2 separate regions of the Homo sapiens genome follow, and region 1 is linked to region 2. The links are contacts of gene promoters, found by promoter capture Hi-C in blood cells and fetal thymus (Javierre and others, 2016). All regions are on one chromosome and are shown on one strand. Each heading gives the region's core, a stretch centred on a gene start or on the middle of the fragment in contact. The rest is flanking DNA. Distances are from core to core; before and after follow the strand shown. Region 1 overlaps TMEM33 (transmembrane protein 33). Region 2 holds the start of BEND4 (BEN domain containing 4).

Region 1 (6,837 bases), core at 3,407-5,906, 200 kb after region 2:
TTCAATATGCTTTTATATTACTATCAAAAGTCTAAATTTTAAAAGAGGTTCAACGGGCTATATCTAGTCTACCTACAAAATGATCATGAAAACACTTTAAGTACCATTTTTTACACATCTGAAAATGAAGGAGAAAGGATAATTTTATATTAGTGTGTTTCGGTGATGTAGGCACTTAGCATGAAAAGAAAAAACTGGATAGACCTTGATCTGAATGGTGTCACTCCAAATTGTGGCCTATTTTACTGTTTTCCTAGAAAGCACATATTGACAGGGTACTTCTTTTGAATAATTCAGTATTTTAAAAATGCAAGCCAGGCACAGTGGCTCACGCCTGTAATCCAGCACTTTGGAAGGCCGAGGTGGGGGGATCACGAGGTCAGGAGTTCAAGACCAGCCTGGCCAACATGGTGAAACCTCATCTCTACTAAAAATACAAAAACTAGCTGGGCATGGTGGCGGGCACCTGTAACCCCAGCTACTTGGAGGGCTGAAGGAGAATTGCTTGAATCCGGGAGGCAGAGGTTGCAGTGAGCTGAGATGGCGCCATTGCACTCCAGCCTGGCCAACAAGAGTGAAACTCCGTCTCAAAAACAAACAAGCAAACAAACAAAAAATGCTTAATTTTTTTTTTCAATCTTGAATGATTACATATTTAAAAGGGCCATGGAATTCAGGGACTTAGTTTTATAGCTGACTCAGCACTTTTGGTGGCATTTAACCTTCAAACACATCATGTGAAAATGGGGGGCTACCTGAGGAAAGAGTGCCACCTACTGATTATAAACATAACTGTCCGTGGCTACTTCTTCCTTGAAGTTTTCATTTCAAAGTGTCAAAATTAGTCTAATTTGTGTGACAGCTTTGAGACTGTCAGATTCTAAGGAGATTAAGGAAGGAAGAGGTGGTGGTCAGAATAACCTATGTTAATCAAAATAAACTCCTTAGCATTAGTTAAGGTTCTTTACCTCAATCTCTCAAAATTAATGTTATTCTGAACTAAAACTTAAAAAAAAAAAAAACTAAATCTCTCAGTTCTACTTGTCTTATTACACATATACTCATCTTCTTTTCCAGAAAAAAATAATATTCATGTCCTAAACTTAGAAACCTAACCTGAAGTTTTGATCTGGATTTTTAGGAAGAAGGAAGTATTGATGGTTTCATCATTCTTAGCTCTATAAAAGAACCTATTAATTTTTCATAACTTTTAGCTTAGTATTATAGTTGGCCTTTTCTCTGTAAGGGACATTCTTAAATATTCAAGTCTAATTTTCTTTAAAAAGTTCGCTTGCTTTCTTTCTTCCAGGAGGATCTACCTCTGAACTTCATTCCAAAAAAAAAAAAAAAAACCTAAATACAAATTGCATAATAAATTTCTCTTTAGATTGATATTAGAGTTTAAATTAGTAAGGTACCAACTATACAAAAGGACAGAGAATCCTTGCTAAAATAAAGTAGATTTTGTATAAGGCTTCCATCTATCCAAAAAGGTTTAATATTTAAAAATGCCAGAAGAACAATGGTACTACACCACTTCCAGAAGAATTAGACACACTGGATGTTAAATGAACTTCTTTTAAACCTGTAACTAACAATAAGTTCAATGATGCAGTAAAGAGTTAATTTCTGTTACTACATTCATTCTATATATTGCTATTGTATTTCCTTAATTTTAATTTGATAGGTATACATGTAACACTATAATTTCAAATTCCAAATCAGCCGGTTGTAGATATTCCTATTGCAGAATTTCTAACTATGAGTTCATGCAAACTAAACATCTAGTAATGCTCAAATTGTAAAATTTACTTTTTCGTAAGTTTAAGATTACCTTTTTTTGTATATTAAACCTTCCTTTAAGAAACAAATCTGTTTCAACTTGTCAAACATGAGTATATCAGAAATATTATAATTCTGCTAAAATGACATAAAACCTCAATTTAAAGCACAGAGTGTTATTTTATACTGTAATATTTTTAATGTTAAAATGCTTTTTGTTAAAACCAACATGGATTATTGACCAATTATCTTGACCAACAGTACTTTTCAAAATAAACAGGAAAAACTCAAAACAGAGACACACAGATCTTTAAAAGACAATCATGATTTTAAAAAAATCATGGATCATGGTATAAACAGAGCACACAAAAGGAAAATAAGAAATGAAAAAAAAACTGTTGAAATTCAAATAAGTTTTATACTTCAGTTAGTAGTATTGTTCTGGGCTAATATCTTACTTTAGATAAATGTTCTACAGTTATGTAAAACGTTAACATGAGAGGACCTGAGTAAAGGGTATGCAAAAGAACTCTTCTTGGCAGGGCGCGGTGGCTCACACCTGTAATCCCGGCACTTTGGGAGGCCGAGGCAGGCAGATCACGAGGTCAGGAGATCGAGACCATCCTGGCCAACATGGTGAAACCCTGTCTCTACTAAAAATACTAAAATTTTGTATTTTTACAATACAGCTGGGACTACAGGCGTGGTGGCGTGCACCTGTAGTCCCAGCTACTCGGGAGGCTGAGGCAGGAGAAGCACTTGAACCCAGGAGGCAGAGGCTACAGTGAGCCAGGATTGCGCCACTGCACTCCAGCCTTGGCGACAGAGACAGACTCTGTCTCAAAAAACAAAAACAACAACAAAAAAACTCTCTTGTACATTTCTGACTCTTCTATAAATCTAAAAGATCTTTTTAAATTATAGGAAAAAACTAACAGCTTCAAAATAAACATGACTTCAGCTGCCAAAATTTCTTGATATAATTCAAGACTTCATTTTTTAAAACATAATTAGAAATCAACATTATGTTTACTTAACATTATAGTCATTTTATTGCTCTAGAAAGTTTAGTTTCTAAAACCATTGGATTACTTACATAGTGACAATAAGACTAGCCACATACACAAAATCAACTGTATGAGGCTGCTTCTCCAGCTTAGTGGACAAATATTACAAAAATACAAAAATAGCTGATTATAGTTAAGCTATCAAGTATAATTTTTCATGTATTTATCCTAAGAATATCCCCTTTTTATAGATAAGGAGATGAACAAAAATAAAACTAATGTTACTGATAAATTACTAATGAATGTATTTGAGAAATCCAAATTACATGCAGACAGAAACTGGTCACAAAAACCATTACATTTCTCTATACTAAAACTGTACAATGTTTTAAACATTTCCAATCATGCAACGGTAATGAAGATCAGCATGAATTTTATAAGAGTTGATGGGAGTTCAATGAACAGGATTTAACACATTTTACAACCCAAATCAAAGTTGAATAATACATCCAATTCCCCTAAATTTATCTATGCGTTGAGACTGAAATGCACATTATTCCCCCACAACTCCTCCCCCTACCCCATTCCCAATCAATTACCTTACCTATAAAACCTTCCATTTAACCTTTTAAGTCAGATTTGATGGGTAAACATGTAATCTACAGTATACTCTCCATTATTATTTCAGGATAGACACACATATAGTCAGATGCTGAATCTTCATTACATTCCTTTCAAAAGGCATCTAAACTGTTGCAATTGTCTATGAAAATTCAAGCCTAAGAAACCAAGAAAACTGGCAGTCAAGATTCTGAACTAGGTAGTTCTACAAACTATAATACGAATAATCTATATGTCCACATTAGTAAAAGAAGGATTTCCTGTTTGAGAAATGTTTCTCAATGGCTCTTTGAAGGGAAAGCTGTGTCACTACTGCTTTCTGCTTTCAATGGCTAGGTGACCCCAAATATTTATCCAACTGGCTAAGAGGCTTACAGTTGAGCCTTTTAAAAAATACTCAAGGCCACAGAAGTACTTACGGAAATAAAATTTTAGAAGATCATAGTTTAAGATACATAGAATTCTTCTTATAATGGTACATTCAAAACACATCTGTCCTAACAAAGCAGCATAAAACCAATTAAAAAAACAATTTGAAATTAAATACACTGAGAAGTGTTAAAATCATTAACCAAAATTACTGAATGGTAGAATACTGTCTCAAAATGTACTGAATTCACATATGTGTATCACCATAATGAATTCATGCCAGATATAAACTCAGGTTACCAATTAGGTTGAAACAAATTTTAGAGCTATTTTTTTTACATGAGAAATTAATGTACTTCATGATATAGGCACAACAGCATCTTTTTAAAAAAACTGGTATATTTATCACTAGATACAGACTTCTTTAACCATTAGCAACACAGCGCAGTAAAATTTTCTCAAAACTTTTTAAGCTTGATTTAACATGCCAAGAAAATGATTATTTTTCCACCGAGATGCATTTATGTAAATTATGTAAATTGGATTGAGGTCAGTGTAACACCTGGAATTTACAACCCCTAGCAGAAGTACCAGCTGCTAATAATGCTTATACTATATTTGTAGCTTAACTAGATGTTAAACTATGGAACTGTTGGTGCCAATCTGCTTATAAAGGCAATGCTCTGGAGACAAAGTCTTCTCACAAACAGTGGGCAAGCAGGTTTCATTATTATGTGTTCAACAACAATCCTCAGTTCATTAAATAAGGTCCTGCAAGACAAAATAGTTTTCTTTGAGAAACACAAGGAAAAAGCAATACACAGGCTTACCTCATTTTATTGTACTCCATAGATATTTCATTTTTTACAAATTGAAGGTTTGTTGCAACACCGCATACAGCAAGACTATCAGTGCCACTTTCCAACAGCATGTGCTCACTTCATGTCTCTGCGTCACACTTTGCCAATTCTTCCACTATTTCAAATGTTTTCATTATTAATCTATTATGGTGATCTGTGATCTGTTCTGTTACGGTGATCTCTTTGGTGTTACTATTGTAACTGTTTTGGGGCACCACAAACTGCACAAATATAAGATGAAGCAGTTCATGAAGGCCATTCCTGATTGGTCTCTTTCCCTCTCCTCAGACCTACCTATTCTTTGAGACACAATACTGAAATTAGGCCAATTAATAACCCTGTAATGGCCTCTAAGTGCTCAGGTGAAAGGAGGCCTCCCATGTCTGTTACTTTAGATGAAAACTAGAAATGATTAAGCTTAGTGAAAAAAGCATGGCTAAAGCTAAGACAGGCCAAAAGCTAGACCTCTTGTGCCAAATAGCCAAGCTGTGAATGCAAAGGAAAAGTTCCTGAAGAAAATTAAAAGCCCATTTCTGTGAACGGATGAATGATAAGAAAGCAGAACAGCCTTACTGCTGATGGTAATGCTATTGCGCACTTAGCAGACTACAGTAGAGTGTAAACATAACTTCTGTATGCACTGGAAAACCAAAAAATTCATCTGACAGCTTTGTGATATTCACTTTATTGTGGTAGTCTGGAACCACTCCCACAACATTTCTGAAGTATGCCTCTAATGCTAAACAAATACTCATGAAGGAATCTACCATAGCCATTAGAATTTGAAGTAAAAGAATAACTAGAATGCATTGTAGAGAAAACACAAAATACAATGAAATTCTCAAACAACACCTACATCTTTTATGGGTGGAAACACTCATTTAACAAAGGTATTTAATAAATGGCTATCTCTAAAACCTCAGATTAAATTTTAAAAATTATATATATATATTTTAGAGTCACATCATTTTCACATTTAACTTAGGCAATTTCAACTAGTTTTTTAAAACAGAACAAGAAAAAATATACTACATGGACAGTGTTTTTTATATATTTTAAAATATATAACATGGACAGTTATATTTATTCACCCACTATTTCCTTAAATGTACATATTGTCCCTCAGAGATTTCCTCTTCTGTAAAATAATTCTGAGTTGTGGTGAAATTTAAATGCAATATGGAAGATGCTCAATAAATGTTACTTCCCAGTTGGATCAATACACTGAACTATGACTCTTTTATGCCTTCCGACTAAAGCCCAAGTACTCGGTGTCACACCCAATACCCTCCACAATCTAGTCTCAATCTAATTTTCTGCCCCATCTCCTGCCACTCCCTGCCCTCGCTCCTATCATCAACTTATGTTGCATGTTTGTGCCCAAAACCATGTGGGCTTTGCCTATGTCTTAACTGTGCTCACTGCCTACAAAGTATTATTACATACTGTAGATATCACATATATTATACAGGCTAGTATACACAAAATCATGTATACTGTACTGACATTTATAAGTGATATGAAGGATCATCAAGGGTAATTTTAACCATTCACAATTTTCACCTTATGTGCTGACTCATCCTGTATAAAGATGCAACTACTATTCTACCTTTTTGTGTCCTGTTTTACTTCTATGGTTAGAAAAAAAGCAACAAATCTACTTTTCTAAACAAGTATTTAATATGCTTGCACAGAAAGACAGGAATAATAATATTTGGAGTAATGCATAATTTTCCAAAACCTGCCCTTCCTGTATCTCCTGTCTTCGTGAGAGCACCATTACAACTCTTAGGCTTCCAAGCCAGAAACCTGTGGGTCTTTAATTTACTCTTTTCTCTCAAGCCCTAATATCCTATCTCCTAATACCTTTCATATTTGTCCCCTTTTCCTTTTACCACTGGATTAATTCAGGCTCTAGACTACTCTAATAGTCTCCAAATTGATATTTTTCTTCTCTTGCTGAGCTTGCAATCCATTTTCTGGAATATTTCTAAATCAGATTTCATCATGGGGGTTCCCAGCCTCTCTATGTTACAATCTTCAAAGGCTCTCCTTACCTCAAAATAAAATCCAAACCCTTTCATGATCTAGTCCTTTCTACCATCTACCTTTGTGGACACAGATATTTATCAATTCTCTATATACTTCCTGAGCTCAAGTATGCTAAGCACTTTTCAGGCACCCATGTGTCAGAACTC
Region 2 (7,014 bases), core at 4,050-6,549:
CTCGGCTCACTGAAAGCTCCGTCTCCCGGGTTCCAGTGATTCTTCTGCCTCAGCCTGCCAAGCAGCTGGGACCACAGGTGCATGCCACCACACCCAGCTAATTTTTGTATTTTTAGTAGAGATGGGGTTTCACCATATTGGCCAGGCTGGTCTTGAACTCCTGACCTCGTGATCTGCCCGCCTCGGCCTCCCAAAGTGCTGGGATTACAGGCGTGAGCCACCGCGCCCGGCCCATGATTATATTTTAAAAGGATCACTCAGCCGCTGTTTTGAAAATAAATTGTCTCCCTGCTGCCAATCTGATCCTCTAAAGTTCATTGTCCACAAAGCAGAATGAATCTTTTAAAATACTATGAAATGACCCAGCAATCCACTCCCAGACATTTATTCCCCCAAAAATAAAACTCATGTCCACATAAAAACCTGTGTTTGTTCAGAGCAGCAAGAGTTGTTAACAGTTCAACACTGAAAGCAACCAAAATGTCTTCCAATAGGTGAATGGTTAAAGAGCCTGTGGTACATCCATACCATGGAATCTACTCAGTAATTAAAAGGAACAAACTACCGATGCACACAACAACACAGGTGGATCTCAAGGGCATTCAATTAAGTGAAAAATTTCAAAGGATCACATAATTGCATGATTCCATTCACATAACTCTAGTGACATAAGATGTACCCATCGGAGGATACAGATGAAGGGTACCTGGGACCTCTCTGCAACTTCCTGTGAATCTGTACTTACTTCAAAATAGAAAGTTGTTTTAAAGAAAGCACTGTAGAAAATAAATTGTGTTTCATTGGAAAACTGCACTGCCTACAAGCAACACACCCTTCCCAGTTATCTGATTCTACTCTTTCATTGTCTTTGAACTATTTTTACAAGTTCTAAACTCTGCAAGTTTAGGCAACTGACAGACATGCAAACTGTCCCATCTGGTATAGGTTCCCTTTCCTCCACCTGCATGCCTCCATGGAAAAACCATTTACACATTCAATTCAACATTCCTTTATTCCATACCAATCTGTGCTTCCCTTTGAACAGTGTAAGGGCCCTGAATAATTATGTTTAATACAATCTTTAACACGTGCTCATTTTTATGTCCGTATGAGAGTCATGATTTTACCTTTTCTGAAAACATCATTTTTTAAGAACATGAATCTGGTCATGTTGTTACCTCTGTGTAACTACCTCCAAGACTTCCCGCTGCCTTTAGAATAAATCCCCCAAGTGTCCCGTGATGTACAAGGACCTGCACAGCCTGGGCCCAGCCCGCCTCTCTCCTCTCCTCCTTGCTCTGCCCCTTGCCAGGGCAATTCCCATGGCTTCCCCTCTTTCAGCTCCCTGAGAACATCAAGCTTGTTCCCATCTTATGGCTCTTGCACCTATTGTCCCTTAGCCTGGACTGCTCTTCTCATGGGTGGCTTTTTCTCATGAGTGAACTCTCAGCTCTATTGTTCCACCTCAGAGAGATCCTCTCAGTCACATTCTATCAAAAGTAACAGCCTCACCCTATTTTTTTTTTTTTTTTTGAGAAAGGGTCTCACTCTGTTGCTTAGGCTGAGTGCAGTGGCACCATCTTGGCCCACTGCAGCCTCAACCTCCTAGGCTCAAGTGATCTTCCGGCCTCAGCCTCCTGAGGAGCTGAGACTACAGGTGCTATTAGCCACCGTACCTGGCTAATTTTTTATTTTCTGTACAGATAGGGTGTGACTATGCTGCCCAGGCTGGTCTCAAACTCCTGGATGCAAGGAATTCTCCCACCTTGGCCTTCCAAAGTGCTGGGATTACAGGCATGAGCCACTGTGCCCAGTCTCCCACCCTGGTTTTTCATCATAGTTTGTTTAGAGACGGGCCTGGCTCTGTCCTCCAGGTTGGAGTACAATGGCACAATCACAGTTCACTACAGCCTTGGACTCCTGGGCTCAAGTGATCCTCCTGTCTTAGCCTCCCAAGAAGCTAGAAGCACAGATGCACAACATCATGCTCAGTTATTATTATTTTTTTGTAGAGACGGGCTCTCACTATGTTGTTCAGGCTGGTCTCAAACTCCTGGGCTCAAGTGATCCTCCCCATTCAGCCTCCCAAAGTGCTGAGATTACCAGCATGAACCACTGTGCCTGTCCCTCATCATAGTTATTTCTATTTGAAATAATATTTTTCAGTTAGTTACTGGTTTATTTGTTTACCTGCTCCCCCCAAATCCATAATAGTAGGACCTTGTGATCTGGGTAACATTATATCCCCCAGTGCTTAGAAAGGTACCTAGCACATGGTAGACACTCAATAAATATTTGTGGAATAAATACCTGGGGGAATAAGGTCCCTGAAGGTAGCAAGATCCCCATCAGTGGAGGCATTTAAACATGGTTTGCACAACCACTTGCCAGGGCCATCGAAAACTATGGGCAGAGGCTTAGTCACAAGAATAAAAGACTGCATAGGTCCCTTCTAGTCCTATGTACCTACGATTATATGGCCACCACACCTTTTTTGCTATGCAATGGGAAAAGCAAAGGAGTATTCCTCAGTCATTTTGTACCAAATGATAGTATGCATACTCCTGTTCCTGCTGCAATATCATCTTGGCATTAAAATGTTGAAGCTAATCAGACATTTAATTTCAAAGTGGAAGGTCATTATCTTGTCACAAAATTTTATTCCAATTACTTTTTTTTCTATTATACGAAATGAATTAAAAGTAGCACAAAACATTGGGAGATCAAACAGTCAATCAGAAGCTCATTAAATATCATTGAAATTGGTGCAATAAAAAGCATTTCCCATGGCTGAGCTATTATTTAAAAGCTATATTCTGGATGGCTCAAGGAATTGACATGCTGCCAATCAAAAAATCACCCTGTCCATAAATAGCCACTTGGCTTTTCAAAATTCACTCTCACTCTCTCTCTCTCTTTTTTTTTTTTTTGAGATAAGAGTAAATATCTAAAAAGATTTAAAGCATGGGTATAATTACTATTCTATCAGCTCCTATGAGACCCCTAAGAGAAGATATCAGCAAAGTCACTATCTGATAATTTAGGCCACAATTTAGAGCAAGATGCTCACAGAGTGCTACCAGTAATTTTATGAACACTTAAATACATTACATCTATGTACAATACTCAGTTAAATACAATCTCAGGCAGGGGTTAGTGGTCAGCTATAATTTTAAAATTGCCTTCAACTCCACACTTAGAGTAAATGCTCATTTTATTTTTAAAAGGGTGATTCTTAAGTACTTCACTTTTCTATGAACTCAGGACGCAGACATAGGTGACTGCCCACATGAAAATCTGAAAGCTGATCATTTAAAACTTTTAAATATTTTTCCTCTGGGCACCTTCCCCTCCCCCTTCCCCCCACTTTTAAAAGCTAAATGACTAATTTGATTATTTCAGTTTTATAGAAATAATCACTTTTTGATGTAAAGGACAGCATGTCCTTTTCAATAGAAAATATACAATAGAAGTATTGTTCCCAGTCTCTTAAGGTGTTTAAGTGGTGAGGAGGATATACATTTAAAACTACATAGAAGAGGAAGCCCCCAGGTACAGGAAATTACTTCTTCAGAAGAACTAAAAGATTTCTCTCCTCTTAACTCCCCACACTGCCACCACCCCAATTTCTTTTCAAAAGCCAGGACTTATTGGCAAATTATCTGGGAGTAAAGTGGGAGGAAAACATTTCAATGCAAAATTCAGAACTGCTTTATAGAAAGGAAAGTGTGGGGAGGTTTGTTATCATTTATTTCCTCCAGTATATCATTCAATTTCAGCTGTCTCACGTCTCAGAAGTAGCTCCCCCATTTCTCACTTACGTGCCTAAGAAACATCTCCCTGGCATCTCATTCTCTTTCTCTTTCACCAGCATTTCATTATTTCTTAACTGTCCCTCTCATGCTTGTCTCCTTTTCCTAGTGATCCACGTGTCCTCATTTAGCAGTTTTCAGAAGCCAGGGAGAAACATTGCAAATAATGTTAAATATGATTAATATCTTGAATTCCTTGAAATATGACATGCATGAGTTACAATGAAACCTCTTTTATTTCCCCATGAAATGCTTTTGCATAATGAGAAAGAAAATGTCCTCTATGCCCTAATCAGCCCTGACAGTTCCTGGACTCCCAAATACTTATATTTATGGCATTATTTATTTCATCTCTAATAAATGGATTGGGGGGGGGACACAGCACCATCTGAGGAAGCTGCAGGAGAGAGGGAGACAATCTAGGGGGGAATAATACAGAAGCTGAACCAGCAAGGCAGAGAGAAAAAGCTTCCAAAGGGAAGGAGACCAGGGAAAGAGAGGCCAAAAGATGTGAACCCCCAGAAGAAAATGGGTCACCTTCCTAAGAATAAAAGGAAGGCTCTGAAAAGGAAACAAACTTCAGAGTGCAGAGATGAGGGTCCTACATCAAGGAGCATCCAGAACTCTGACCTGGAGAACGAAAAAGGAAGGCTGAAAAGCAAACCTGGGGCAGGGTATGCTGGTTGGCCTAGAAGAGGGGTGATTTGGGATAGGGAGCAATGGACCCTCTGCCCCAAAAAGTGGCTGGGAGAGACCAGGACATCTGCATCCCATGGAGGATCTTCCTCCCAACGACTGAGATCTCTCATTCAAACGGCTACTGAAATTGGGCACCCTCCAGACCCTCGCCGGATGGCGCCAGTTGCAGTGAGTAAAACAATGCAAGGAGTGAGTTCTCGTGTTTCCCTGGGCTTGCAAGTACATATACATATATTAAAAATGACACTGTTGAAAGTAATCATCACCTCAAAGGGAGGTATCAGGACATTTCCCCACTCAATTGCACAGAGGCTACTGGCTATGGGAAGTGAGGAGTTGACTTCAAATAACCTGGATGCGTCAGTGCAACACAGCCGCACACTCCCGAGTGTCTGACTTTGGGCAATTCCCTTCAACCTCTCAGAGCCTCGGTTTTCTCATCTTTATAATGGGGGGGAAATCATGGTGTCATGCACGTTCTCGGGGCCCCTACGGGAAACAAATGAAAACGTGAAAAAGTTCTACGCCTTGCGAGCTTTTATGTTCCGCATGAGCTCAGAGGCCGCGATGCTCGGGGAAAGCAGGACCCCAAAGCCCCGTAAACACCGCGCGACCACCCGGGCCAAGATCTTCAAGAGGTTCTTTTCAGAAGGATCGGAGAGCAATTCCCGATTGGTAGAAGAACTTGCTGTAATACACACGTACTCTGACGACCCCGCCCCAACGACTAGCCCCTCCTCTGTGCAACCCCGAGAGTTTGGGGTCATGCAGGGGGCGCCACGAGCTCGTTTCGGAAGCCGGACCCCGCCCGCAGCCGCAGAAGCCTCGAGTCCACATCTGGGTCTCTAAAGTCTCGCCGTAGCCAGATCCCGGATCCCCACCTTCTTCACCAGTTCCCGGGCGTCCTCCAGGTCCTCGCTTTCCCCCTTCCCCCGCTCCCCGTCGGAGGCGCGGAGCCGCCAGGCAGACCCCGCGGGCGGCTGCGGCGCCAGGCCCCGCCCCGCCCCCATTATCATTAGCAGATATTACCCTAAACACTTGCTCTTTACCTCCTTTCTCCCTCCAGGCATTGGCGAGGCAGCCTGTCAATCAGGAGCTCGGGCGGCAGCCCCCCGCGCGGGGGCTCGGCGATGCCAGCCTCAGCGACAGGCGGCGGCGGCGGCGGCCACGGCACAGACACACACCCTCCCACACGCGCGCACCAGGGCAGACCCGGCGGGCAGGCGGCGGAGGCACCCTCGGAGCCCGGCGCCCGGCGGGGAGGGGACGTGCTCCGAGGGACCGGCCCCGAGGCGCCGGATGGAGGAAGAGATGCAGCCGGCAGAGGAGGGGCCCAGCGTCCCCAAAATCTACAAGCAGCGCAGCCCCTACAGCGTCCTCAAGACGTTCCCCAGCAAGAGACCGGCGCTGGCCAAGCGCTACGAGCGACCCACCCTGGTGGAGCTGCCGCACGTGCGGGCGCCCCCGCCGCCCCCGCCGCCCTTCGCGCCGCACGCCGCCGTCTCCATCAGCAGCAGCGAGCCGCCGCCGCAGCAGTTCCAGGCGCAGAGCTCCTACCCCCCCGGGCCCGGCCGGGCCGCCGCCGCCGCTTCGTCGTCGTCGCCGTCCTGCACGCCCGCCACATCCCAGGGCCACTTGAGGACTCCGGCGCAGCCGCCGCCCGCGTCCCCCGCCGCCTCCTCGTCGTCTTCGTTCGCCGCTGTCGTCAGGTATGGCCCAGGCGCGGCGGCGGCCGCCGGCACCGGCGGCACGGGTAGCGACAGCGCCAGCCTGGAGCTCAGCGCAGGTACCAACTCTCCGCACAACTTTCCTTCCCGCCACGGCCGGGGGCAGCGGGAGGGGACCCAGGAAGGAGAAGCGGGGGGCCGCCGACACTTACCCGTGCTGGGCCGTGTCGGGATGTCGGGGCGCACCTGGGGCCTCCCCGCGCACCCGGAAACTTCGAGAGGATTCTCCAGCGCCGCCGCGCCTGGGCTTCCGACGGCGCGCGCCTAACAGGTGGCTCCGCGGCTTGGATCCCGCGCCGGGAAGCACGGCTGTGGCAGTCGGCGACCAGGATCGCTCGGGCGTGGTCCGGAGTGGGGCCAGACGCCCCCCCGGGGGATAGCGGCGGCCGCTCGGGAAGAAGCTGGAGCTTCTCGGGCCGCCCCGCTGGGACGCCCTCGTACTACTTCACTTTTTCCGTCTGCTTTTTCCCTTTCTCCTTCTTCCTCCATTTGTTTCTTCTTCTCTCCACTTCTCCTTTGCCTTCTAGTGCTTTCTTCGCCACCTCTTTGATGCACTCTCACGCTGTCGCAGTCCATGCTGGCTGGCTCTCAGTTCCGTTTTTCCTTCTGTCTTTTTTTGTGCGCCTGTGTTTCTCGGGGGCGCTCTGTCTCGCTCTGTCCCTTTTCCTTCCCACCCCTTGGTTGTGAGACTCGGGGCTCCTCCGCGTCCGCCACGCCGTGGATTTCGGGCGCGGGGAACCATCCCGCCCCTCCTTCCTGCCCCGGGAGTCGCAGGC

Evidence for each region. Contacts are between HindIII fragments. The CHiCAGO score rates a contact against its expected background, and 5 or more counts as called.
Region 1: a contact is called between a fragment that was not itself captured here and the fragment with the promoter of BEND4 in region 2, in 3 of 17 cell types (megakaryocytes, naive B cells and total B cells). The highest score is 8.2, in megakaryocytes.

The regions. Positions count from the first base shown.
Region 1 is chr4:41,951,783-41,958,619 of GRCh38, reverse strand. TMEM33 (transmembrane protein 33) reads right to left here. Exons shown (of 7, transcript NM_018126.3): 7 at 1-4,550. The coding sequence ends at 4,421. Among named protein-coding and RNA genes, the nearest start is that of TMEM33, 20 kb to the right of the region's middle. The HindIII fragment of the contact is 804 bases long and covers 4,255-5,058 here.
Region 2 is chr4:42,150,940-42,157,953 of GRCh38, reverse strand. BEND4 (BEN domain containing 4) reads left to right here and starts at 5,299. Exons shown (of 6, transcript NM_207406.4): 1 at 5,299-5,422; 2 at 5,578-6,297. The coding sequence starts at 5,811. RefSeq lists silencers at 5,607-5,926, 6,127-6,216 and an enhancer at 5,982-6,825. The HindIII fragment of the contact is 4,164 bases long and covers 4,283-7,014 here.